Regions from separate parts of the Homo sapiens genome. Here all the other regions are linked to region 4. The links are contacts of gene promoters, found by promoter capture Hi-C in blood cells and fetal thymus (Javierre and others, 2016). All regions are on one chromosome and are shown on one strand. Each heading gives the region's core, a stretch centred on a gene start or on the middle of the fragment in contact. The rest is flanking DNA. Distances are from core to core; before and after follow the strand shown.

What was found. The method cuts DNA at HindIII sites, captures the fragments that hold promoters and counts their contacts. A CHiCAGO score of 5 or more calls a contact.
Region 1: the fragment with the promoter of CR1 here is called in contact with the fragment with the promoter of C1orf116 in region 4 in 17 of 17 cell types (neutrophils, monocytes, total B cells and 14 more); the score reaches 15.2 in neutrophils.
Region 2: a contact is called between a fragment that was not itself captured here and the fragment with the promoter of C1orf116 in region 4, in 12 of 17 cell types (neutrophils, naive B cells, monocytes and 9 more). The highest score is 12.1, in neutrophils.
Region 3: a fragment that was not itself captured here is called in contact with the fragment with the promoter of C1orf116 in region 4 in 1 of 17 cell types (naive B cells); the score reaches 5.2 in naive B cells.
Region 5: a contact is called between a fragment that was not itself captured here and the fragment with the promoter of C1orf116 in region 4, in 9 of 17 cell types (neutrophils, monocytes, naive CD4 T cells and 6 more). The highest score is 11.1, in neutrophils.
Region 6: a contact is called between a fragment that was not itself captured here and the fragment with the promoter of C1orf116 in region 4, in 1 of 17 cell types (naive B cells). The highest score is 5.8, in naive B cells.
Region 7: a fragment that was not itself captured here is called in contact with the fragment with the promoter of C1orf116 in region 4 in 5 of 17 cell types (neutrophils, monocytes, total CD4 T cells and 2 more); the score reaches 9.4 in neutrophils.

The regions. Positions count from the first base shown.
Region 1 is chr1:207,494,384-207,498,119 of GRCh38, forward strand. It overlaps CR1 (complement C3b/C4b receptor 1 (Knops blood group)), which reads left to right and starts at 1,774. Exons shown (of 47, transcript NM_000651.6): 1 at 1,774-2,005. The coding sequence starts at 1,885. The HindIII fragment of the contact is 13,119 bases long and covers 1-3,736 here.
Region 2 is chr1:207,512,772-207,516,772 of GRCh38, forward strand. All of the region lies in intron 4 of CR1 (complement C3b/C4b receptor 1 (Knops blood group)), which reads left to right. Among named protein-coding and RNA genes, the nearest start is that of CR1, 19 kb to the left of the region's middle. The HindIII fragment of the contact is 7,541 bases long and covers 1-4,001 here.
Region 3 is chr1:206,600,046-206,604,081 of GRCh38, forward strand. EIF2D (eukaryotic translation initiation factor 2D) reads right to left here. Exons shown (of 15, transcript NM_006893.3): 6 at 2,906-3,159; 7 at 2,291-2,408; 8 at 218-263. Among named protein-coding and RNA genes, the nearest start is that of EIF2D, 10 kb to the right of the region's middle. RefSeq lists an enhancer at 1,842-3,041. The HindIII fragment of the contact is 1,854 bases long and covers 956-2,809 here.
Region 4 is chr1:207,031,306-207,035,367 of GRCh38, forward strand. It overlaps C1orf116 (chromosome 1 open reading frame 116), which reads right to left and starts at 1,451. Exons shown (of 4, transcript NM_023938.6): 1 at 1,274-1,451. It also overlaps a transcript of PFKFB2 not described here. The HindIII fragment of the contact is 5,727 bases long and covers 1-4,062 here.
Region 5 is chr1:207,464,037-207,467,936 of GRCh38, forward strand. It overlaps CR2 (complement C3d receptor 2), which reads left to right. Exons shown (of 20, transcript NM_001006658.3): 2 at 2,490-2,876. Among named protein-coding and RNA genes, the nearest start is that of CR2, 12 kb to the left of the region's middle. The HindIII fragment of the contact is 1,394 bases long and covers 655-2,048 here.
Region 6 is chr1:206,619,762-206,623,695 of GRCh38, forward strand. No RefSeq gene overlaps it. Among named protein-coding and RNA genes, the nearest start is that of EIF2D, 9.3 kb to the left of the region's middle. The HindIII fragment of the contact is 436 bases long and covers 1,124-1,559 here.
Region 7 is chr1:207,444,631-207,448,363 of GRCh38, forward strand. No RefSeq gene overlaps it. Among named protein-coding and RNA genes, the nearest start is that of CR2, 7.8 kb to the right of the region's middle. The HindIII fragment of the contact is 7,026 bases long and covers 1-3,733 here.

The sequences.
Region 1 (3,736 bases), core at 524-3,023, 460 kb after region 4:
TACTAGGAGATGGATACCAGCAGAAGTGGTAAGGAGTGGCACCTTCTGATAGCATGTGATGTAAAACTGGGGAAATGAGCCTTCTCCTCTTCTCTTTTCCTAAGCCTACTACAATCTGGCTGCTACTCCCATTACTCTGTTGAGAATAACTTGAAATGATGATAGCAAATCCTTAAAAGAATGTCACTGGATGTACTAAAAACTGTGATAAGTGATATGATCAAAGTAGACATTTCTTCCACTAGAATTTTGGGAGGAAGCCTAATGGAAACCAATGCGCACAGAAAGACAAATGCTGTATGTTATTAGTCATATGTGGACTCTAAAAAACTCATCTCATAGAAGTAGAGGGTAGAATACTGGTTACCAGAGGCTGGGGAAGGGAGAGACAATGGGAGATGGAGAGAGATTGGTTAAAGGGCACAGGATCACAGATAGATAGGAGGAATACATTCATCCTTGAATACTTAACCCTCTGCCCTAAATCTGTCAGTCCTACATCCATACTTCTTATTTCAGTAAGTAGCACCACCATTCATTTCTAATCCTGGGGCTAACTCTTTTTTTTTTTTCTTTTCTGAATCATGTCTCCTTTTAATGGTTAAGGAAAACAAGTTTAACATAAAATTAGCAACAACAACAACAACAACAACAAAATCAAGGTTTAAAGTCAAAATTATTTTAAGAGAAAAACCCAGGCAAAATAGCCTACCTACAGGCAGGCAGTACATGTCAGAAGGACAGGCCACCCCCAATAAAAAAGATAAAATATTATTTTTTCTACCTTTTTTAAACTTAATTATTTAATTATTTCTTTCTTTTTTCTTTTTTTTGTTTCTTTTTTTTATTATACTTTAAGTTTTAGGGTACATGTGCACAACGTGCAGGTTTGTTACATATGCATACATGTGCGACGTTGGTGTGCTGCACCCATTAACTCGTCCTTTACATTAGGTATATCTCCTAATGCTATCCCTCCCCCCTCCCCCCACCCCACAACAGGCCCCGGTGTGTGATGTTCCTCTTCCTGTGTCCATGTGTTCTCATTGTGGAAGCTGGAAACCATCATTCTCAGCAAACTACCGCAAGGGGGCTAACTCTTGATTGCTTTCTTCTCACCACCAACCTTAAGAAAGGAAGTAACCAAAATCCAATACATGAGCAACTGTTCATTCCATCTCCAATATCTTTGTTAATTGTCCACTTTATCCACCCAGTCAGGGCCGCCATCAAACCTCACTTGGATGTCGGCAAAAGCTCCCCTGACTGGTCTTCGCAGTCCATTATTGCCCTATTCTAATCTACCTTCCATACTATACACAGATTTACATTTTTTAAATGTGTATCTAATTGTCCCTCCCTTTTAAAAAATCTTACAATGGCATGACGTCTCAATTCAGGGTAAGGAAATTGTTTCTTCACATTCCCTGTACACCGTACACATCGCCTGCAATTGCCCTTCAACACGGAGAGCAGGCATTTCATTAGCTGACCTTCCCACACACATTCTTGCAAAGAGGAAAAGTTAAGCAGGGTGTTTGGAGGCGAGCTGCCATCATCCACCGCCTTTGTCTGGAAGCGCAGGGCCTCACACGCGGGATCCATCGGAAGCCCGAGCATTGTCAAGCTCTGCTGCTGCACCTGGGTCAGCAAGGTGGGCTCTGCCAGCGAAACTCGTTAGAAACAATGCAAATGGGGAGTAAACATGACCTCGCCCATGAAGGGGAAGCTGTGGTCAAAAGCATTTTGTCCCGGAACCCCGCAGCCCTCCCCACACTCTGGGCGCGGAGCACAATGATTGGTCACTCCTATTTTCGCTGAGCTTTTCCTCTTATTTCAGTTTTCTTCGAGATCAAATCTGGTTTGTAGATGTGCTTGGGGAGAATGGGGGCCTCTTCTCCAAGAAGCCCGGAGCCTGTCGGGCCGCCGGCGCCCGGTCTCCCCTTCTGCTGCGGAGGATCCCTGCTGGCGGTTGTGGTGCTGCTTGCGCTGCCGGTGGCCTGGGGTGAGAGGCGGGCGGGCGTGGGGAGGCGCCCGGGCGGACGAGGAACCCGGGGCCCCGCAGAGAACTCGCGTGCAGCGCTGAGCTGCGCTGCTCTGCGCGCCCGGGTCCGAAGGCAGCGCGATGGGTGGGCTGAGCGCGCGACCCGGCAGGGCGGCGGGTGTAGGATCCTTCTGCGCACTGGAGACCCTCGCTGCTTCTGGGTAAGCGTGGAGTTCCCAGGTGCAGGGGCTTAAGTCGTGACGAGCGCAGTGGAAGGCGCAGATGCTGAGCGGGTGCCGCACGAAATTCCTTGCCTTTGTGTATTCACAGCCTCGGCTGGCTATAGCCAAGACGTGGCGTTGATCCTAGTGAAAGGGAACTTGGGGATCCGACAAACCTGAGTTCTGGTCCTAGAAACTTAACTGTGAGGCAACTTAGCACACCTGAGTCTGTTTGCTCTTCTGTAAAATGGGGACACTGGTATCTCTGCATCGTGGAGTTGCTGCCTCAGTGGCATTAAGCCTGTCGAGTATCTAACACAGGGCTATGTGTCCCCGAGTCCATTTCTATCCCCCAACCGTTACCTCTGTACTTTGCTCCCAATGGTGTTTAGACAAGCAGTCCTAGGGATGCAGGTGTTACCTGACAACTGCCCCGCATGGAACTGTCCTCGCCCCCCACACCAAGCCACCACGGCCATCATCACCATGCACTTAATTGACAGCATACTTTAAGACAGATGCATGCCAGGCACTTGCGGATTAGAAGAGCAAGGGAAGCCCCAGAACATGCAATGTAACCGTTGCAGGTAGAAGGGACAGTAGATATGTTTACAGTTCGCATTTTAGTGATGTGTTTAGTACAAAATAACGCCTATTATAATTATTATGGAAATTTTGAGGCCACATCTCTTCCTTTTTCTTAACTTCAAATAGGTAAACATCTTCAGTTAGAACCCTTCTATTATTATTTTTCGGCTCCCCAGAAGTCTTCTTGGTTGCCTAGACTCACTGGCAACATCTCATTTGAAGTGACAGTCTTGGTTGTTTTTGTCCAGCCTATTCCTGACAACTCCGGGTTCGCCCTTCTCTGCCACTAGACATTTTACATTCATTATTTGAGTGTTCCTTCTTCTCTAAAAGAGTAAATAAAATAAAATAAAGTAGAACCAAGTCCCGCAAGAGTTGTTATTAATATTTGATCTCCTTAGGCACCAGAAAGTAACCTGTCAGGTGCAGAGATGTGATAAAACGTACAATCTTATTTTTAGGAGAGAAGCATGCCCAGTAAGTTAAGCAATCTGTTGTCAACGCTTAGGAATTTGTGTCATCTTTGGGAGTACTGGCCCTCTTCTTACTAGAATGTTGTTTTACTTAGCCTATGTTGATTAAGTTACTGTTATAAACAATCCCAGACACTATTAATTGCAAAAAAAAAATTTACTGAGGTTATCACAATAACTTCCAAATGTGAAACAGCCTAAACTAAACTACCTAGAAATTTTGTTGCTGACATAATTTAAATTTTAAAATGCTGATGGATGCTTCCAGTGTGCACGGTCCTTTGGAATTTTAAAGAAGTATAAGAGCTCTGCACCCAAAGTGTATGCATATAGAAGTAGGTGGTGGAGTTTTATGAAATCTACTTATTAGGAAGCCAGCGTTCTGCTTTTTCCAGCCTCTGCTACTTACCAGCTGGTGTCTTGGACCCAGTAAGTTAAGTCACATCACTGACCTTCAGTGTCCACATGTA
Region 2 (4,001 bases), core at 135-2,634, 480 kb after region 4:
TTTTCCTGGAAATATGAAAAAGATTAGTAAAATAGAGAAAACAAAAAATATAATAATACACCTATACCTGTATTTATTTTTTATCTCTGTTTCTACTTCTGTAACCTCTCTGTATCCAAATCCTGGTAAATGGCCTCAAGTCTTCTTGGAAAAGGCTAGGGGAAGATTTACAATACATGCTTTTGATTGTGTAGCATGGTGCTTCCTCAAGAGAATCCAGTCTCCCATCCGTTGGTGCTGCTCTGGGTCTATAAACTATTCAAGTCTAGGAATTGTTGATGAACAATGAACTTCTTTTGCAATAATTCAAGTCAGACTTCTATTCACTTGACCTAAAACTCTTACACTTATACAAATCAAGTAACACTTTAGTCGGCTATCCGTCTACTTTGGTTTTAGAGACTCCATGATCAATTAGCCCAATAACAATGTCCTCTTCAATCAAATCATTCTGATTGCTGTTTCAGCTCAAATATGCATTACAAGAACCCCCATTGTCTCTGGCAATTAAGTGCTGCCACTGGGACTCTGCCACCCTGAGGTCCTTTGGTCCCCAAGTGAATTCAGAGAATCCAGTTCAATGGCAACAGTTCCCATTGTCATTCCTGGCCTACAGAGAATGAACCGTTGCAGAGGATGCTGAAACTCCCCATGTGAATGTATTTCTCAAGCCTCTGGTAAAAGGTCTGTCTTCTGAACCCTCTACTCCTGCACTGTGCCTCACCAGCTCTATCCAAGGATACAACTTTCAGAGTGGAATGGCTGTTGCTTAACTTCTGCCTCTCAAATATCAGGCTAATTTCTCATGCTATAACCCTAGTCCAGAACCGTACAGAGAAAGTAAGTCTGGAAAACTTAATTCCAAATTGGCCTGGTTGACATGGTGCCAAACCACCAAATAATTATAATTTTATTTAACTCTTTGTCTTCTTTTCTTTCTTTCCTTCCCTCCCTCCCTCCTTTCCTCCCTCCCTCCCTCCCTCCCTCCCTCCCTTCCTTCCTTCCTTCCTTCTTTCCTTCCTTCCTTCCTTCCTTCCCTCTTTCCTTATTTTCTTTCTTCTTTACCACGCTGGCTAGGACCACCAGTATAACATTGAACATTGGTAGCAATAGATGTCATCCTTGTCTTGTTCCACATCTCAAAGTTAAAGTTTAAAACATTTCACCATTAAGCTGGTGTTTACTGTAGGCTTTTGGTAGATAACCATTTTTGAAATAAGGAAATTATCTTATATATTCTTCATTGCTAAAAAATTTATGTCTTTGAATCATGTTGAAGTTTATCAAACACTTTAGTTACATATATTGATGTAATCATATCTGTTTCTCTTTTTCTGTTAATGCAACAAATTGTTTTGAGTACATTTTTGAAAGGCAAATGATTTTAAATTTCAATTTTACATTCTTAAAATAAATCAACTCAGTCATAATATTTAATCATTTTTATATATGGCAAATATGCTTTTATGATATATTTTAGATGTTTCTATTAAAATATAATTCATGTATCATAAAAGTTACCTTTTTAAATTATACAATTTAGTGGTGTTTAGTATATTCACAAAGTTGTGTGTTATGGTCTGAACGTTTGAGTCCACCCCAAATCCATATGTTGAAATCCTTACCCCTAAAGTGATGACATTAGGAAGTGAGGCCTTTGAAAGATGATTAGGGCATGAGAGCAGAGCCATCACGAATGGGATTAGCGTCCTAATAAAAGAGGCCCGGAAGAGCTCCTTTGGCCCTCCCACCATGGGAGGAGATGCTGAATCTGCCAGTGTTGGTCTTGAACTCCCCAGCCTCCAAAACTACAAGAAATAAATTTCTGTTGTGTACAAGCTAACCAGTTTATAGTATTTTGTTATAGCAGCCCAAATAGACTAAGACATTGGGCAACCAGCACCGCCAATTAATTCTAGAACACTTTCATCATCCCATTCCTAACATATTTTAGAGATAAGACTATAATTTTCTTTCTTGTAATGTCCTTAATAAGATTTTGATATCAAAGCTATGACAGTCTTATAAAGCCAGCTGGTAGTGTTTCATATATTTGTTTCCTTGTAAGGGTTTATATAAGATTGGCATTATTTCTTCTTTAAAAATAATTCACCAGAAAAGGTATGTGGCCTGGAGTTTACGTTCTTGGGAAGTTTTTTTTTTTCCAACCATTTTCCTGTACCATGTAGACTTTTGGCTGAAGTATAACATATATATATATATACACACACACACACACACACACACACACACACATATATACATATATACTTATATGTATATATGTATATATACGTATATACGTATGCATACGTGTATGTATATGTGTATATATGTACGTATATATACATACGTACGTATATATACGTGTATACGTATATATACATATACATATATAGGTATATACATATATACGTATATATACATATACATATATAGGTATATACATATATATACGTATATATACATATACATATATAGGTATATACGTATACGTATACATATATAGGTATATGTATACATATATACACACTATATATATATACACATATATATAGTGTGTATATATGCACACATCTTAATCATGCAGTTCAATGGAGTTTTACAAAGTAAATGTATCCATGTAAACGTCACTCAGATTAAGATATAGAACATTATCAGCACCCCAGAAGCCTTCCCGATGCCCTTTCCCAGTTATCTTCCCAAAGAAACCACTATTCTGATTTATAACACTAATAGTTTTGTTGCTTCCTAAATTTTATATTAAAGGAATCAAAAAATAGATACTCTTTTGTGTCCAGCTTCATCTCAATGTTATATTTGGAAGAGTCATTTTTGTTTTTGCAGGAAGGATTGTTGGGTCTTCTTTATTATTATGTTGTATTTCATTGATGATCTTGAGTACCTTTTCACGTTTGTGAAGTGCTATTCCAAACTTTTGCCTATTATTTATTAGTTTGTCTATTGTTTTGTAGAAGTTCTTTAAATATTCTCATGTTTTCTAATAAATGTAACACAAATATTGTCTTTCAGGCTGTGGCTTTTCTTTTTTCCTTCTTAATGATGTCTTTTGTTTATGAAAGTTCTACATTTTAATAATATTCAATTTAGGAGTCTTCTTTTTTCCAGTTACTGCTTTTTCTATTCTACTTAAGCAATTGGGCCAAGTGAGGTGGCTCATGTCTATAATCCCAGCATTTTGGAAGGCCAAGGCAGGAGGATTGCTTGAAGCCAGGAGTTCAAGACCAGCCTGGGCAGCAGAGTGAGACCCTGTCTCTACAAAAAAAATAAATATATAAAATTAGCTGGGCTCAGTGGCACATGCCTGTAGTCCCAGCTACTTGGGAGGCTGAGGTGGGAGGATCCCTTGAGCACAGAGGTTCAAGGCTTCAGTGAGTTATGATGGTGCCACTGCACTCCAGCCTAGGTGACAAAGCCCTGTTTCTTATGGATGGGCAATAGATCTAATATCATCTATTAAAAAGACTATTCCTTGCATAGTGCAATGCGACACCACCATGACCATAAGTCAGGTGACCTTATGAGTGGATCTCATTCCAGAGAGGTTCTGTTTCACTGGTTTATTTGCCATACTATAAGCACTACATTAAGATTTTAATTACTATAGCATTACATTAAGATTTGATATCTGGTAGCATATATCTCCTAACTATGTGCATCTTCAAGATTTACTTGGTGATTCTTGGCCCTTTGCATTACCATATAAAATTTAGAATCAGCTTGTCAATTTCCACATAAAGAATCCTACTTGAATTTGTATTAAGTTTCTGTTGACTCAGTAGATCAATTTGTGGACAAGTAACAAATTTACAGTTTTGAAGTTTAAATTTATGAATATGATATATCCTCCCATTTTGAAGTCTTCTTTAATTTCTTTTAATAATATTTGTTAATGTACATTATAGAAGTCATGTACCTATTTCATTATCTTTATTCTGACATATTATTTTTAAAATTTCATTCTTTAATTATTTACTTCT
Region 3 (4,036 bases), core at 633-3,132, 430 kb before region 4:
AATCAGATATAAAGGGGTCAAAGGAGAAAGGAAAGTGGGTGCCACCAACTGCTTCAGCCCAGGGAGAGTTTCTTTCTTCCCCCTTATACTTGGAGTCAAAAAGCTTAATTCTAGACTGAGCCTGGTAGACAAGGCTTCCCCAGCATCCATCTGGCTTATGTCATATGTGCCCCTACACAACTCTCTGCATGGGTCTGCAAAGAAGATCCTTGCTTACCTTTTTGTAGCTTGACTTCTTTATGTCCAGTTGTCGTCCTTCGGGGCTGATGGCAGATGGAAAAGGCAAATTAAACTAATGAGCAGTCATACTGGGACCTGCCTGACACTGAGAGGAGGGCCTTTTTCCTCAGCCTTCCTCCCCCACCTTCAGAGAGAGGCCACTGTGCCAGAACTCTCTGCCCAGGGATGACAGCAGAGAGGGATGCAGACTATGGGACATTCTAAATCAGTGCTGTTCAAGAGAACTTTCCATAGACGTGGAATGTTCTCTGTGTTGTCTAACAGGGCAGCCATTAGCCACATGTGGGTAGTAAGTACTTGAAGTGTGACTAATGTGACCAAGGGAACTGAATTTTAAATTTTATTTACTTTAAATTAATTTAAACTGAAAATAGCGACATGTGGCCAGTGGCTACCACATTGGATACAGCCTTAGATTCCTCCCAGACCAGACAACCTTCTGTGGCCTCCAAAGTTGCAACAGCAAACTCACACTGTGGGCAGCCAGGCCTGGAGTGGGGCCCAGCAAGCCGCATCCTGGGGTCAGGTCTGGCCAACTAATTATCTACTGTCTATGGTCACATTAGTGCTACAATGGCAGCATCGAGCAGTTGCAACAGAGATGGTGTGGCCTGCAAAACTGAAAATATTCATATTTACTATCTGGCCCTTTACAGAAAAACATGCTGACCCCTGCACTACAGCAATTAGTTTTGGAGAGAACATTCCTGATAAAAGCTTACATCTTCTCTCAAAACATGACACGCAATAGCAGTGGATTCTCGAGGAGTCCTTCTAGAATCCACCCCAGAATCCTATCCTACAGAATATTCTGGGGCCCCTTTACCATATATTTGCAACCCAAGAAAGTCAGAACAGATTACCAAGTATCCCTCCACACACTCCAGACACCACATTTGTACAGGATAGCTTAAAGACACCCAAGTATAAATGGGAAGACATTACATTAAGAATCACTTTTTTAAAAAACCACAGCCAGATTCTCAAAAAGAAATAAATTCAGGCCGGACACAGTGGCTCACGCCTGTAATCCCAGCACTACGGGAGGCCGAGGCAGGCGGATCACTTGAGGTTAGGAGTTCAAAACCAGCCTGGGCAACATGGTGATACCCCATCTTTACTAAAAATACAAAAATTAGCTGCACATGGTGGCATGTGCCTGTAATCCCAGCTACTCGGGAAGGCTGAGGCAGGAGAATCTCTTGAACCTGGGAGGCAGGGGTTGCAGTGAGCCGAGATCACGCCACTGTACTCCAGCCTGGGTGACAGAGTGAAACTGTGTCTCAAAACAAAAAATAAATAAATAAATAAATTCAATCTCAGGGTAAAAATCAATAAGCAAACCTCCTGACATGATAGTATTTACTGAATGCTTATTATGGTTCAGGCTATGTAATCTTTACAGCAATCCCATGATTATTAGAAATTAGGACTCAGAGAAGCCCAGTAACAAGCTAAAATGCACATTGCTTGAACACCCTGGAGACCTAGCAGTTGAGTACAGACAGCTCTGTCTTCAAAATCCAGGTTCTATCCACACGCAATAATACCACTCCTGATGGCTTGTGTTTTGGATGGGGTGGGCCGGGACGGGGGGTGTTCACACCAATTCTTCCTCCTAATAAAACCTAATGTGGCCCCCCACATACTTTTCAGAAGTGTGAGGAGGTTGAATGTTCCAGAAGAAGATTCCTGACAAAGAGGCTGCCCTGGGACACTTCCTGCAGAGGACACGCTGCCCGATTTGTGAGGTTGCCCAGAACCCCCACGGCAGAGGCAGTGTTCACAGAATCTCAGGAATTTTAACTTTCCGGTCCTCAATATCCTTTCATTGGCTAAAATTTAAGATTTTGTTTTAACAGCCCAGCAAGCTAAGAATTAACTTTTTAGAACCCAGGAACTAATGTATTTGTCAGATAAGCCTTCCCTCCACTCTTTCCACAGCATGTCCCTCAACCAGTCCCTGCATTGGCCCCATCCTGTCCTACTACCAAGGAGCACACGTGAGACCCCGGCCCCGGCCTCCAGCCCACATCAGTGCTTTCCATACCAGCAGGAGAACATGTGGCTGCCAAGGAAAGTGCTGGTGAGTAAAGGGAGGTCAGCCTTTTTGACTCGGCACTTCAAGGCATGTAAGAAGCATTGCTGTAACAGCTCATCCATTTGTTCTGCAGGGAAAAGACAAGAGCCACATCCTTCCTGAGGGATACAGAACACCTGGTACAAGAAAACGACCCCCAGCTTCATCCCTACCTCACCCACTTGGCTCTGAAAGGAACCCATTCCCAGGTACCAAAGCTCCCAGCCTCTCTTGAGCACTGAGCCTTTAAAGAGGGTTGACCCCAGAGAAGGAGTCAAGCCACAAAGTCCCACCAAGCTAGGAGTGTTCACCCAGAGAAGTTGAGCCAGAAGAAACCTTGGAGGGCTTTGTAGCTGAAGACAGGCAAATGCCAGGGCAGATTAGCTCCCAGGAAGACGTGACTTATGTGGAAAGGATTCAAAAACAAGATGTGAAAGGGCTGCTGCGCCACCCTCACAGAAAATAAGGACCTTCCCCTCCTCCCCCGGAAGCTTAAGGGCCATTCTAGTCAGCAGTGGAGTGGAGTTCGTCAGGCTCCTAAATTGAGAGGTGGGGAGATGGGCTCTTCTCCTCCTAGAGTTATACCTTGAAGCGTTTTGCTATCTGTGGAGTCTTGGTTCAGGCCCCTGGTGCTGGTGTCTTCTGGGGCTTCTGAGAGAGACTTGTCTTCACGTGCCTGGTGAACCTCCCCATTCTCCTCTTCCCCCTCCAGGGTCATGTGCCTCATGTCTCCCTGCAGGGTGGAGTCCATCTGGACAGACCCCTTCTCTTCACTGAGATCTGCTGAATCCAGGGCCAGTGGAGCAATGGAAGGTGGAGAGGACTTGTTTCCAGACCGCCTGGAAAAATCTCATGTCAGAAACATCAAGCAGCAGCTCCAATACTCTCCAGCCCTGGCCACAGAGGAGTCAGCAGTGAGGTCAGAGACAGCAGAGAGCCAACAGGCAGGAGTGGCCAGGAGGGGGCAGAGAGCCTGTGCCCTCATCTCAAGCGTACTTTCAATTCTGGGCCCCTAAAAGTTCCATGCCTCAGTTTCTTCATCTCTGAAATGGGGAGAATAAATCTTGTCTCCTCCCTATCCCAAAAGAATAATACTATTAATAGACATCCCAAGACTGAGAAAGATTAAAGAAAAAGGAGTTTAAGATAAACTCCCAAAAATGTTCCCTTCATCTGAGTTAATAACAAAACCAATTTGAATTAAATATGAACATTAAGATCGCGAATGCATCTGTAATATCTGTTTGGTGAAATGCAAACCCACGGCTCAGCATATGTAATAAAACACAAACACCTGGACTGCTCAAGGACTGCAAAATCAGTGGCTTCTGTGTTACATCAAATGCAGTCTAACGTGGAAAGCAGAGATTGCCATGGTTTTATGCCACTAAGCCTTAGGAAGACAGGAAAACAGGCGATGCCACATAGCAAAGCACACAAAGCAGTAAAAAACTTTATCTTAGCCAACATTATGCAAATCAAACTAAGTTTTAACTAATAGTTACGGCAAGGCTTCTCAGTGTTGTTCACAGTAAAGCCAAAGGGTATGTTTAGGCTATTCTGATCAGGTAAATACCATAAATATTTTTTTCAAGGTGCAGCGAGAGAACCAAAGCAGCTGCTGCTAAAACAACTTAGACAACCTGACCTTGATTGCTGTTGCCCAGACTGATAGTTAAACAACAAGGTGCTAGGAGAACATCAGTCATCAGCCCT
Region 4 (4,062 bases), core at 201-2,700:
AGGGAAGGAGCAGGTAGAAATACCCTCTGCATAGCAGAGCTTTGTTAGACACTGCCAGTGGTCTTTATTCCTAAATTCACCATCTAGGGCAGCCCTCAGTCTGTGAGTGTGGGGTGTTGGCTCTGTGGTGTGAGGTGAGCTCAAGCCTAAATCTCCAGTTGCCAGGACTGGAAAACCCATATATTCACTCAGGGCTGCGTGTGCCAGGCCCTTGAGCCTGGCACTGAGGGCTTCCCACTTCCCTCTTCTCTGCAGCAGGAGGAAAAGAGTCAAAGTTAGGGACCAAAGGGTTAAACCCCCCAAGATGGATAATGGAGAGGCAACTTGCTACTCTGACTCGACTCCTACATCTGCCTTCCTTCTGCAGGTAAATCTGCCACACAAACTGCCAACTGGGACACCTGCAGGAAAACAAACAAAGCCACCACCCTGGTCTGCTTCTCTGTCTGTGGACTCTGCCACACTACCTTGGCTTGAGCCCCACTTGGAACTCTAACTAGACTTGACATGCAGCCACGAAATATTCATGTGGGTGAGGCTCGGCACAGCCAGGTAGCTTTCTGTTTGCCAGTCTCTGTGTCTATTAACAGGCTGAGTCAGAAAGTTAATTGAGTAGAATCCAAATAAACTTGACTTTGCAGCTAGATTATCCATGGGTTTTCCAAAGATGAGCTGGTAGCTGAAGTTTTCTCCATGTGCCCCAACCTCATATCCCTTTACAAACAACCTAGTACAGCTCATGCCTAACACACCTGTACACAGAGAGCTCCATTATCACATGAGCATGATCAAACACACACACACATTGCACCCATTATTTAAATAAAGATCGACACCGAGTTGGTAAAGCCACGGGAGAATTTCCTGTTACAGTCGCTATGGAAAACCAAGATACTCTCCCCCATTTTGACTCCCTCTATTTCAACTGTTCTTTTCTAAAATCACAACTCAATTTCAATTGTTCAGAGATGGAAATTTCCAAAACAAATCTATTTTCTTTTTCTTGTTGTTTGCACAATATGCCTATCCAACCTAAAGGGATAAATGAAAAAGAAGGTGCCTCCCAGCCCCAGTCTCCACAAAAACACTACAATCTCAAGTTGCTACCAACCTGATCTGATCCCAGAATGGACTCAGAGAATTGAGGAACAGAGAGGAAATCTCCCTAGCTGGGGTATAGAGGGACACCTCCCCTCCCCTGTAGCTCTGATTTCCCATGAAACCCCTTCCTATTGCTATAGGATAAGCAATAGTTGGTTAGTGATTAACTCACCTCCACTGGGTTGGGGGCTGAAGAGAGAAAAGAAATACCCTTTTGTTTCAAAGGGCAGAGATGGAGACAGAGGCTGCTTCCCCTGCCTCCTACTGTTTTCTTCTCCTTTTGAGCTCCTCCTGACTTACCTAGATAGGTAAATGCTTCATCTGTGCTGCCTGGCCCCCACCCTGCCACTGACTCAGCCAATCCTAGCCTCCCCTCCCTACCTCTCATTCCAGCTGTTTCCTCAGGGAGGGAATGGGAGGGGAATGAGCAGGGTGGTGCTGTTCCCTCTTAGCCAATCATCTCCTACCCTCCCCTTTCCTGTTTAGAGCTAATAAAGAGCTCTTTAAAAAAGGAGGGCTGGAAGGAGGAGGAGCCGGTTTGGGCTGAGACTGGAAGGACAGGTGGCAGGGAGGGAGTAGGCAGAGATAGTATATATATTTAATGTTGATATAAAGGAACGCAGACAGTCCTCTGGGCAGTGTGCTTTTCCATAGGTCTATGTGAAACAGGTTTTTCATCTAGAACTACCTTCTTCCGCTTGGAGCTTAGTTTTCCCCTGAATTCTCTAGGCTAAACTCATTTGTGTTCAGTTTTGCTGCTAGCTTTTCTAGATGTTGAAAGTCACTTTCTTCCCCAAGCCTAATCCTAGCTCATAAGCCTAGCAATTCCATTCATGTCCACTGAAGAAGGTGTCCCCAGGCTAGGGATGCTGTAGTTGGGCCAGTCTCGCCCCAGTGCTTGCCAACAATCTCCTTGGCCTAATTTATTTCTGGGGGAAATAAAACCATTCATCCCCTAAGAGGTCCGTGTCCTGATGAAAGAGTGACTGGACAGCTTGAAAGGAGAGAGCATGCACTCTGTCATTTGGTCCTCTGCTCTCTTTTGGCTGTTCATGGAAGGTGGCAATACATATTATGAAATAAAAACAAAACAAACTACCAACCAGTTTAGCAACTCTTGTCTCCTTTCATGGACTGATACTTGGCATTCGTAGGGAGAAGAGAGTAGGTAGAAGAATCTACTATTTTTGGGAAGAAATTTCCCACCAGGTACAGAGACCACTCTTAACAGATATGATTTTTGCCTGGAAGCTGGTTTTTCCTACAGGTAGATTATCCTTGATAGGTATCAGGATTTGAGGTATTCCACTTACTAGCATTAAAAGGTCAGGGAGAAAATTTAAAATCAATGTACACAATAATTGCCAAAATGTATTAAGCTCTTGCTATTTGCTAGGTATTGTGCTGAGCATTTTCATGTATCTTTTAATTTAGTCTTTAACTTAAAAAAGTAGGCATTTGTTAATATCTAAATTTTACAGGGAGGTTAAAAATCTTTTTCAAGGCCATGTAGCTAGGAAGAGGCAGGGCAGAGATTTTAATTCAGGCAGTATAACATCAAGGTTGCTATGAATCAGCATAATGCCAATCCGCCTCTATTTTGGAAGGAATCTCAAGTGGGAATCATGAAATACACAGATAATTTGCAAGTGTAATTCTAGCTATTAGATTCGTCCTTTTCTGTTTCATTTCCTACTTAAAGCTATTAATATGTTTTATAACAAGACGACACATGGCTTTCATCTTTTCTCTTTCTGTGATCATGGTTGGATAGGAAATAAAAAGGGCAGTGATCCTGGGGCCAAGGTAAAGATGAAGTGGAGCAGGACTAATGGATAGGAAGGAGGTTGGAGGAAGCCTGGGATAACCCAGTACCCTATCAGCAGCCTATGGATATCACAGCTGAATGAGCACTTCGGGCTATGACCTCTTTCCCTGGTGTGTCATTCAAACATATATGATGTCATAATACTAACAAAACAGGAAGGGCATCTCCAAATCAGCAGTTCAGTGCAACCAGAGTCACACCCATGGATGAAGTCAATGAAGTTGATCCAGCTCCATAGGTGTGTGATTTGAACATTTGCTAAAAAAATGAATTGACTTATGAGAATTAACTTCCAAGAGGATAGTAGGCAACAGTCTTATTTGTGAACAGACACAGTTTTTCAGTTATAATAAAATTAGGATAACTAGGAGGAACCCCTATCTTTTACCAGGTAGAAGCAGGGACATAGACAAAAATCATCTTTCCCTTCCTCCCTTTCCTCTCAAAAACTTTTTCTTTTTGTAAATTATGAAATATTTCAGATACACTGACATAACAAACATAACCGTACCTAACATCCAGTTCAGGAAATAAAACATAAACATCACAGTCGAAGTTACTTACAAGCCTTGAGCCTCCCCTCCCTGCAAACACATATATGTCCTAGCTGAAATAAATCACTATTTCAAATTTTCTTTTTTCCATTCTCCATGTACTTAAATGTTTTCCCTGGAATTCATATTGTTTTTGCTTTGTTTTATTTTTGCTTAGAAATATACCAAGTCTCTAACATTCCAAGAGAGTTGGAAAGGAGGCCTGGACTACAGAAAAGGGAGGATTTCCAAAGTCAGTCAAAAGCCTGAAAGAATAAGACTTCCTGGTTGATATAGGTCATCATTTGAGGGGGTATGTGTGTCATTGCTCTTAGTATGTAAATGCCTGTTTGATGACCAGACTCTGTGGAAACTAATTACAGCCCAGCTCACCTGACTCATCTGTTCTCTCCTTCTCCATTCTTGCATGCTGTTGTGGTCATCTCTTTGACTGTCAGAGGCTAGTTTATGATTTCCTTTCTCAGTACAACCTCCCCACTTAGGCACCTCCCTTCCCTCTAAGTGCACATGCAAGGTGTGTTAGTCCATTTGCATTGCTATAAAGGAATACCTGAGACCTAGTAATTTATAAAGAAAAGA
Region 5 (3,900 bases), core at 102-2,601, 430 kb after region 4:
TATTTCATAGTGAGTAAATGCTTACATCTAAAACATTCCAGGAGATTACACACTGCCAACTTTATTCCATGCAAAAAGTAAGCCACCCTAGGTCCCTTCTATAACAATTTATCTGTGGTCTGGGGCGGGGACTGGTGACCAGCTCATAGCTTTTCGGTTTTTATCAGCCAGTTCCATATATCTTTTGACCTTGCTACTTCCTATTTAGAATCATCTTTGAGATCAGGATACAGAATTTCAACAAAATAGGTAAATTGTAGGCTGAGTTGCAGTTTGGATTGCAAGAATGAAGAGAAAATTCTCAGAAAGTATAATATTCTCTCTTTCCCCACCTACTCCTTAAAAAGGTATTCCTTGTAAGTCACTCCCAGCCATCCCCCATGGGACTTTGACAGCAGCAGCAGGGAGAGGGGTTTGCTATGAAATCATCAGTGCCATATTGGATGTAATAGGGAAAAGCTGTTTGACCTCTTGGATGAGAAGTCAATGCATTGCACCAGCAAAGATAATCAAGTTGATGTCTGGAGCTCTGGAGCAACCCTCCTCTTCAGTGTATTACTCTTACTTGAATGCTCAATTATAGAAGTTGAAAATGGAGTTGTGGAATCTGGATTATGTTCATTTTTTTAAAATGATACATGATATTTAAGTGTAAGCTTGGTTTTACCCTGAAAGGCAGCAATGTAATATGGTGTCAACTAAACAGCAAACAGAATCCTCTACTGCCAAAGTGCTTCAGGGGTGAGTTGGGCTGAAACTTCAGGATCTAGAAATAAAACAAGGTTTTTCTGGGAAATAGATATATGGTACCTATGGAAAGAGCAGAAGGAAGATAGTATATGTGGTTGAGTTTTCTAGTTAAAGAGTTTTTTATTGTTATTGTTTGTTTTGTGTTTCTGTTTTTGTTTTTTTGAGATGGAGTCTCGCTCAGTCGCCCAGGCTGGAGTGCAATGGCGTGATCTTGGCTCACTGCAACCTCCACCTCCTGGGTTCAAGCGATTCTCCTGTCTCAGCCTCCCGAGTAGCTGGGATTACAGGCATCCAACATCATGCCTGGCTAATTTTTGTATTTTTGTAGAGATGGGGTTTCACCATGTTGACCAGGCTGGTCTTGAACTCCTGACCTCAGGTGATCCACCTGCCTCAGCCTCCCAAAGTGCTGGGATTACAGACGTGAACCACCACACCCTGCCTAGTTAAAGAGTTTAAAAGTAAACTTTGAAAGTAATATCTAAATGTTGCAGATGTAGGACTTTTTCTTCTTTTGTATTTTGGGGCAGTGCTAGATCTGTGTTATTGTAGGGGAAATTAAAAGATGCTTTTTTAAAAAAGCAGATAGCACCAAAGTCAATGATTAGAGATTTTTTCATACATATATATATATATAATTATCACATCTTATCCATAGGTGTGCTTTGAACATATATATGCCACTCTTCTCTGTCTTCTGGAATGCAGACCAAAGATGTTAAATTGATTCAGTTGAGTATATATTATACTGCAGATTCTATATGTATAAAGACAACAGTTCTCGAAAGTTACCCTTACTGAAACCAAGTATAGCACTGATGTGATGAAACAGTTTGGCTGTATCTTCTTATGTCAGTTTTCACTGAAGACCTCCTCTTGGAGCCAAAGGGAAGTTAACTGAAAGTTCTAGAGGTTGGCAATTTTCCCTTTATTCTGAGACTCCCTCAGAAAAGGCGTGCATAACAAAGTAAATGTAAACAATATCCTTCATGGTTATTAGGACAAGTAAATGAAGAATATGAGGCCATTATTCAAAACCTCTGTTCACTTCCTGTGGCTTTTTCAAAGTGTTCCAGCCTCAAGTCAGGACAAATCACCTGTACTGAGGCTCTAGCATCTTCAGCAGCAGGACCAAAAGTGGTCATCTCAGCCTGTACCCCCAGTTGTGTGTTTGAAGCAGCCATTGAATAATTAGTATGTTCCAGGTATTGTACTTTCTCTGTTCATGTACTTTTAGCACTGGATTCTCACTATACCTTATGAAGTAGTTTGCGTTATACTATAGACTAAGAAACTGAAGCTTAAAGAGAGTAAGACTTGCCTGAGGTCACACAGCTATTGAATGACCGTGGGGAGTTGAAACTAGGTCCACTGAGCTCAAATTTCCCTAATCCATGGTACCTCCCCACATGTAACTATCATGCCACTAATATGTTATTTTCATGTGCTGAATTTGCCTTTTGTTTCATTATTAAAATTGATTAGACTCAGAACTTTTGGATATATTCTTTTCATTATTATTGTTTGGTCAAGATGATTTATGTTGATCTGTTTGCTGAGGATCAAGAAAAAGGTAAGAATTTAGGAGTTTGGGAGTAAGCAGGGAATAAATAAACTATACATATTTCTAAGTCTGTTTCTGAAAAAGTTATGTGATCTATATTTGGATATTTTACCTACATTTGAATATTTTCTCACCATGATCAGTATGCCTACCAAGTTCCTTTTCTACTTTTCAGGGATTTCTTGTGGCTCTCCTCCGCCTATCCTAAATGGCCGGATTAGTTATTATTCTACCCCCATTGCTGTTGGTACCGTGATAAGGTACAGTTGTTCAGGTACCTTCCGCCTCATTGGAGAAAAAAGTCTATTATGCATAACTAAAGACAAAGTGGATGGAACCTGGGATAAACCTGCTCCTAAATGTGAATATTTCAATAAATATTCTTCTTGCCCTGAGCCCATAGTACCAGGAGGATACAAAATTAGAGGCTCTACACCCTACAGACATGGTGATTCTGTGACATTTGCCTGTAAAACCAACTTCTCCATGAACGGAAACAAGTCTGTTTGGTGTCAAGCAAATAATATGTGGGGGCCGACACGACTACCAACCTGTGTAAGTGGTGAGTATGAAAAGAAAGCTGGGTTGGGAGGTTGGGGTCTTGCCTTTCTGTGCAGACCACGTTTTGTACCCTCCTGAAGGACAAACAGTGTGAACATGTAATGATGAGGGTGGAAGAAGGAAACAAGGGAAAAGGTGAAAGTTATGGCTTCTTCGTGGAGGCATATAACTGCTCGTTCAAAAAACATCAATTGAGCAAAGGAGTTTAAAGTACATGGAAAAATGTAATTAAACACACCTAATAATTGAGTAGGGTAAGTTTTGCAAGGATGGGGTCAGAGTTTGTTGGGGATGTGGGAATGGGGTGGTTTTCAACTGTATATCTGTGTTACTGTTAAAATGAGAAGAACGGTGGGATCTTATAGCAAAAATACACCCAATGGATTTGAAATTAATGTATAAGTAGCTGCTAACACAGTCTAGCACAGGTGATATCCTGCTCTCTGTGGTCTCTGTAAACATGTTTTGAAGTTATCCACTATTTCCCCAAGTCATCTTCTGAGCCATCACATTTCAAATAAATGCCTTTGAAAATAGGGACCTACTGTAAATTATTCATTCCTTCTCTTTTGGTTTGGTTTATGTTGCTGCTGAAATATAAATCTGAATTTGAATTCCACAATTACAAGAAATGGCAATATTTGACAAAAATTATACTATCAAATTAGGTATTTTCTTAATAAAGAACAATATTGACAAATTTTAAGCAGATTAAAGAGCTGACAAAACTGTTAAATTAGTATAAAATGGGATTCTGTTTATTGATTGATTGATTGATAAATAGCCTTGGAGGAAGGAGATCTTAACGATAGTTACAAAGGGCAATGGCTGCTGAAAACAGTTAAGCCTTTGTAACAATTTAGACAGACATATATGTATGGACATGGAAGGATATCGTATACATGTCGCTAAGTAGAGGAAGTAAGGCATAGAATATGTATTAGTTGTACACACACACATAATATAGGTGTATATATGTATCATGCATAGGATCCCAATAAACTATATTGCCAATATCTACCAGG
Region 6 (3,934 bases), core at 92-2,591, 410 kb before region 4:
ATTAGCAGGGTGTGGTGGCAGGCACCTGTAGTCCCAGCTACTCAGGAGGCTGAGGCAGGAGAATGGCGGGAACCCGGGAGGCGGAGCTTGCAGTGAGCTGAGATGGCGCCACTGTACTCCAGCCTGGCCGACAGAGCAAGACTCCGTCTCAAAAAAAAAATAATAAAAAAAAAAAAAGGGAGAAAACTTGTGTTCATACAAATCTGGACATAAATGATGATCAGAGGCTTTTTCATAATTGCCAAACCCTAGAAACAATTCAAATTTCAAATGTCATATATACAGGACAAAGATCTAACAAAAAAGGATAGTGTCACTGTGCTTTCGGGTTAACCAGTCCTTTGCTGGTGAATTGAATGGGGGAAAGGGGAACTCTGACTTAGAGTGCTTACCCATTTCTGCATTGTAAATACTCCTACCATGGCCTATTTCAAGTTAGGTTTAACAAACCGCAGCTTACAAAATTCTTGAATATTTAACAATCAGCTTGACCAAGTTATATAATCTCTCTGAGCCTCAGTTTTTTGTAAAATATTAATGGATAAAACTGCCTGGCCGGGCATGGTGGCTCACACCTACCTGTAACCTCGGCACTTTGGGAGGCCAAGGCAAGAGGATCATTTGAGCTCAGGAGTTCCAGGCTAGCCTGGGCAACATGGTGAAACCCTGTCTCTAAAAATATACCAAAAAATTAGCTGAGTGTGATGACATGAACCTGTAGTCCCAGCTACTCGGGAAGCTGAGGCAGGATAATTGCTTGAGCCCAGGAGGTTGAGGCTGTAGTGAGCTGACATAGCGACACCACACTCCAGCCTGGGCAACAGAGTGAGGCCCTGTTTCAAACAAAACAAAACTGTCTAACTTCATCGTAGTGAGGATTAAATGGAATAATATGCATCAAACTCTTAGCACAGGGTCTAGCAAATAGTAAACACTCAAAGGGTAGCTATTATTATATTGATTGCTTAGGCCTTAATATAGAGTACTCAGCTGCTTAAAGCAGAGGAAAAACAAGCAAAATCATACAACCAGTGTCCAAAGTCTGCAGCACATGAAATAGAACACTATAAAGGATCATCATGATAGTGATCGGTTGGAGGTTCTGAGCAATTTTCCCACGTTAAGCTTCTCCAAGTCCTGAGGTAAGGGGGGAAACAGAAAGGCTTCCAACCATAATGATGGATTCTGGCTTTCTAGTCAATTCCCCTTGTTCACTTGCATTGGGAGACAAGAAAGAAAAACTTTTGAGAATACATGGCCAATAAGAGTGGAAGAGGCTCTGAAATCAGGGAATCATTTGTTATTGCTGTATACAGATGTGTAGCTGTTATGCATTATTCCCAGGTTCAAGATCCTTAAACCTTAAAAAAGGTTACCATTGTGGCAATTTAAAGTGTGCTCCTATTTCATTTAATCTGGAATCCCGAGACTCGTTCTGTTTTCACCCACATGTCAGCCACAGTGCTTGGTCATAGTTGCTTCACAAACGCGTGTGGACTTGAATCCCACATTAGAGCTCAAAGGTTCCTCAAGAGCTTCTAATCCCAGGATGGCAAATAAGCTTTATGTGCCATGTCAACTCTCCCAGGTTGGTACCAGCTGACTAGGGAGCCATGCTGAGGATTCTGAAGCCAAATCTGAGGAGCTGAGAAAAGAAGGCTGTAATTAAAGGGCATGGTGTCTTCTCAGCCCCAGAAGGGAAAGTGGTGATGCCTAGGCTGTTTGTTGCCAATGCTACCCTAATCCCACCCTTCATTTACAGCAGAACAACCTGCAAGCCAAAAGTAGAGACCCAGGATAAAAAATAAAAATATTCTGAAAACTTTTAGGTAAAGTCATGGATAACAAAGCTTTCGTGGGTCATTGTGGGAAAAGTAGCATTTTCTTTCTCTAAACTTTGAGGTCAGACCATAATCTTCTAAAGTATCTTTTAGAAGTATTCCTTGGGTGCTGGGTGCGGAGACTCACACCTGTAATTCCAGCACTTTGGGAGGCCGAGGTAGGAGGATCACCTGAGGTCAGGAGTTCTAGACCAGCCTGGCCAACATGGCAAAACTTCTGTCTCTACTAAAAATACAAAAATTAGCTGGGCATGGTAGCGCATGTCTGTTAAAAAAAAAAAAATGTATTCCTTGGGGCCTCGCTGAAAAAATGAACATGGAGGAGAGAGGTGGGTGGACAACAATTATCCTACTGCTCTTATTGCTAATCTTATTAGTTCTAGAGCCACACCTAGGGCTGCTTCCCACTCAGCTCTGACCACCACACCTCATTCTCCTTCCCTGTCCGTCTTTCCCTAGAGGGTCTTAATCCAGTGGTTCTCAAAATGTCGTTTCTAGAGCCACAGTGACATCAGCTAGGATTTTGTCAGAAAAACAAATTCTCAGATACTACCCTATATCTACAAAATAAGGAATTTTTTTTGTTTGTTTTTTGTTTGTTTTTGTTTTTGTTTTGAGATGGAATCTCGCTTTGTCGCCTAGGGTAGAGTACAGCTGTGCGATCTTGGCTTACTGCAATCTCGGCCTTCCAGGTTCAAGTGATTCTCCTGCCTCAGCCTCCCAAGTAGCAGGGATTACAGGCACTCGCCACCACAACCGGCTAATTTTTGTATTTTTAGTAGAGACACGGTTTGGCCGTGTTGGCCAGGCTGGTCTCAAACTCCTGACCTCAAGTAATCCACCCGCCTTGGCCTCCCAAAGTGCTGGGGTAACAGGGTGAGCCACTGTACCTGGCCCTGTGCTTGTTTCAATAATAGCTTTATTGAGATATAGTTCATTGCCCTACAACTCACCCATTTAAAGTGGACAATTCAGTAGCTCTTAGAATATTCACAAAGTTGCACAACCATCACCACAATCAACATTTTAGAACATTTTCATCACCCTCAAAAGAAACCCTGTACCCATTAGCAGTCACTCCTCGATTTTCCTCAGCTGCTCAGTCCTAGACAACCACTGATTGACTTTCTGTCCCTATTGATTTGCCTTTTCTGGACATTTCATATAAATAGAATTATACAATGCATGGCCGTTTGTGACTGGTTTCTTTCATTTAGTTCACTGTTTTCACAGCTTATACATGTTGAGCCTTGTATGTACGTGTGTCAGTACTTCATTTCTTTTCATTGCTAAAGAATATTCCATTGTATGTGTATATGACATTTTGTTTGCCCATTAGTCAGCTGATAGACATTTGGGTTTGTAGCCACTTTGGGGCTACGAATGATGCTATGAACATTCATATACAAGTTTTTCTGTGAACACATTTTTATTTCTTTGGGGCATATACATAGGAGTGAAATTGTTGGGTCATATGGTAACTCTATATTTAACATTTTGAGGAACTGCCAGAATGTTTCCCAGGTTGTCTCATATTGTTTTTGATATTACGGTGTCTCATATTGGTTTTGATTTGCATTGCCTGATGGCCAATGACGTTGAGCATATCTTCATGTGTTCATTGTCCATTTTTATATCTTCTTTGGAGAAATGCCTATTTAGATTCTTTGCCCATTTTTAAATTGGGTTATTTGTCTTATTATTGAGTTGTAAGAGTTCTTTATTCTAGTTACAAGTCCTTTATCAAACATATGATTTGCAAAAATTTTCTCCCATTATGTGGATTGTCTTGGTATTTTCTTGATGGTATCCTTTGAAGGACAAAAGTTTAAAATTTTGATGTATTCTAATATACATTTTGTTTTTGTTGTTCATAGTTACTTGTGCTTTTGGTGTCATGTCTAAAAAACCACTATGTAATTCAAGGTGATGAAGATTTACGTCTATGTTTTTTTCTAGGAGTTTTATACTTTTTGCACTTACTTTTAGGTTTTTTATCTATTTTGAGTTACTTTTTGTAAACAGTGTGAGGTAGGGAGTCAAACTTTATACTTTTGATATAGATATCAAGTTGTCCCAGAACCATTTGTTGA
Region 7 (3,733 bases), core at 168-2,667, 410 kb after region 4:
GATGAAATGCCTGCAAAGCATTAGGCAGTTTGGAAAGTCCCTGCAAATGTCCCTGTCCCCCATCCTCCAGACCACCCCACACCATTATCACGACTAGCAACATGACCAGGTCACACAGATGTTTGACCATTTTTGTGGACTGCTCATTGATTAGCATTATGTGACAGAAGTATTCCGAGGCAGCTTACTGCTTACTGTAGAAGGTGCTGGTTTTCAGCGAAGATAGTCAAGTGGTTTGGAAGGGGAAAGAATTATCTTAGCCGGAATCTAGACACTGATTCTACTCATTCTGATACTACATTAATTCTGCTTTGCAAAGGGGAAAGAATATTCCTTCTTATTTGACTCCTAAATGAACTTCTTTCACTATTTTGAGGGCCCAACATCCCACACACCCCAGGCCAGTGCGGAAACCCCCTAAAGGAAGCAGTTCCTCTTCTTTTTGGATAACTGGCCAGATTTTTTTCCAGGAAATCTCTAGGATTCATTTTGTTTTTTTACATATGACTTTTATGTTGTATTCAAGATACCCAAACTCTAAGTAATGTAAGTTTATTAGATTGCAAAACATTGCAACTGTTTTAAAACTCCATATTAGTGTCATGACAGGAAACCATAACTGATTTTTAAAATACTTGAATTGGGAAAAATTAAGTCTCATGGAGAGTGATTCTCTTCTCTTGCAGCCACCTGCATGGTCTCTACCATGCCCCTACACTTGCTATGTGTTCTTGGCAATACCCCAGGAGGTTCAGACAATAGCTCATCAACACTGAGAACCACAACTTGCAGATGTGGTAGCCCCATTTACACAATGGCAATTGCTTTGTGCTGGAGCAAGGATCTCATCCACAACCTATGGTCTAAGGGTAACTTGTGCATAAATAGAATTCTGCTGTAAGGCAGGAGGACTAGAGATGGTTTAGAATGGCTTGATATCAATCTCCTTTATAATTCAGCAGAAGCTAGGAAGTTCCAAAGCTGATCATGGAAACAGATACTATCTTAGGATAAATCATAGATTGGGAAACATTTTGCTAAGGACTTCTGGTTGGTGCATTCTGGTTGCTGTTGACAGCAAACATACCCTCTCTTCTTGATCTATCTGCAGTAATGGCCCCTTATACCTTTCTAATATTCATCATTACTTTTATTTTTGTCCCTCTGTTTATTCTTGATCATTCTCACTGGTCATTTGACAAATTAATTAGATTTTTTAAGAACCCAACTTGGCTCCTGTTTTTGATGTCACTGATTTTTTGTTTTAATTTTACTATCTCCTTTCTTCGGATTTTTTTTTCTGACCTCTTAAGACAATATATCTAATATCTCTTTCTAAAACCCGCATTAGCTGTATCCCATAAATTTTAATGTTTTTTTCTCCTATGGCTCAGTTTGAAAAACACACTAATATATGTTCGTTTCTATTATGATTTTTTTCTGCCCTATGTATAAGTTAGACATGTCTATCTTAATTTTCAAACATACAGTTTTTAAAAAGTATTTATTGATTATTAATTTCTAGCTCAATGGCGTAGAGATCAGAGAACATATTCCACATGATTTCAATCTTTGAAGTTTTTCGAGACTTGCCCTATGATCTAGCTTGCAATCAATTTTTGTACATTAGCTTTCTGTATCTGAAAAAGGATGTCTTCTGCATTTATCAGGCGCAGTGTTCTATAAGTTCCCTATGCCTTGCAAGTTAATCATGTATAAATTTTCAATTTATTTGCTAATTTTATCAACTTATTCTATCAATTATCAACAGATAAAATGTATCTGTGAATTTAAATTTGCATTGTAAATTTGTCTGTTTCTTCTTGTAGTTCTGTTGAATTTGTCTTAAATGTTTTGAAGATACACTATTATATGTAGAAAAACTTAAAATTATTATATCATCTAAGTGAACTGTTCTTAAATTTTCTTTTGTCAACAATTGATATAATTACATATATCTTTTACTACTGTTTACATAACATATCTTTTTCCATTACTGATTTTCAAGTTTTCTTTATCTTTAGGGTTTTTTAAATACAGTTTTATTAAACCATAATTCATATACCATGCAATTCATCCATTTAAAGTATGCAATTCAATGACTTTTAGTATATTTACAAATACATTTAGTCATTACTAGAGTCCATTTTAGAACATTTTCATCACCTGAAGAATACTCTTTTAGTGTCATCCTCTATCCACTCCCTATTATCCATCCTCCCTTTATACTCCCCTCCGCTGCTAAGCAATCACTGATCTATTTCCTGTCTCTATAGATTTTCCTGTTGCAGACTTTCACGTGAATGGAATCATATAATGTGTGGACTTTTGTTATTGGCTTCCTCCAGTTAGCATAATGTTTTCATGCCTCATCCAAGTTGTAACATATCAGTACATCATTCCATCTTATGGTTTTTTCCGTTATGTGGATGTACACACTTTGTTTATCCATCAATCCGTTGATTGACATTTGAGTCATCTCTACCTTTTGACTGTTATGAATAATGCTGCTATGAACATTCATGTACAAGTTTTTGTGTGAACATATGCTTTCATTTCTATTGGGTATTTACCTAGGAGAGGAATTGCTGGGTTTAATCATTTGAGAAACTACCAGATTGCTTTCCAAAGTACCTGCACCATTTGATATTCCTGCCAGCAGTGTACAAGGGTTCCAGTTTCACTACATCCTCATCAGCACTTTTTATTATCTGATTGTTTAATTTCAGCCATCCTGGTGAGCTTTGATTTCTGTTTCTAGTGGCCCGAAATTCTACAAGAATCAAAGCTCAAATTCTCCCACACCCCTAAAATGACCTAGTAGATTTCCACTTTCTCTTTTATGTTGCCCTAATAATTTCTCTTATACATTCTGATTATATATATTTATAGGGATATCTAGATAGATGATAGATAGATAGATATATAGATAGATAGGCAGGATGGATGGACAGATAGGATAGATAGATCGATCTAAACACACACACACACACACATACACACACACACACACACACACGTATTTCAGCACTTAGGGTTGTTTTCAGTGGAATAATTCATCCAGTTAACCTAGGACATAACATTACTGAAAATAGAATTCCATTCTTTTACCCATTTTAATTGGTATATCGTTCCTATGGGTATGTAGCAGTTCTTCACATGTTCTACATAACAGTCTCCTTTTTAGTTATATGTATTGCAGATGACTTATGTCTTATGTAAGTCATGTGGTTGTGCTCTTGTAATAATATATTTTAACAAATGAAGTTTTTAGTGTTAATATACTTGAATCCATCAAACTTTTCCTTTATCATTTGCATTTTCATGTCTATTATAAGAAATATTTCCTTACCCCAAGGTCATAAAAGTACTCTCATATATAGGTTCTTCTACATTTTTTAATGTCTTACCTTTCATGTTTAAGCCATCATCCATTGGGAATAGAATTAATATGTATGAGGTTTGGATTGATTTTATTATTCCATTATATGTAATGAATTGTCCCCAAATTATTTGTTGAATAGTCTCTCTCATCTTTCACCAGCAATCTTCAGCACTACCCATGCCATGAAGCTACTTTCTATATATGAGGTCTTTCTCTTTTTTCTTATTAATCTATTTTTCTACTCATTCATCAATACCACACTATCCTAAATATTAAGAATTTAGGTCTTGATACCTACTAGAACAAGTATCAGGAAGTGTCACTTTTACTGTTTGTGTCCCTTTGCTA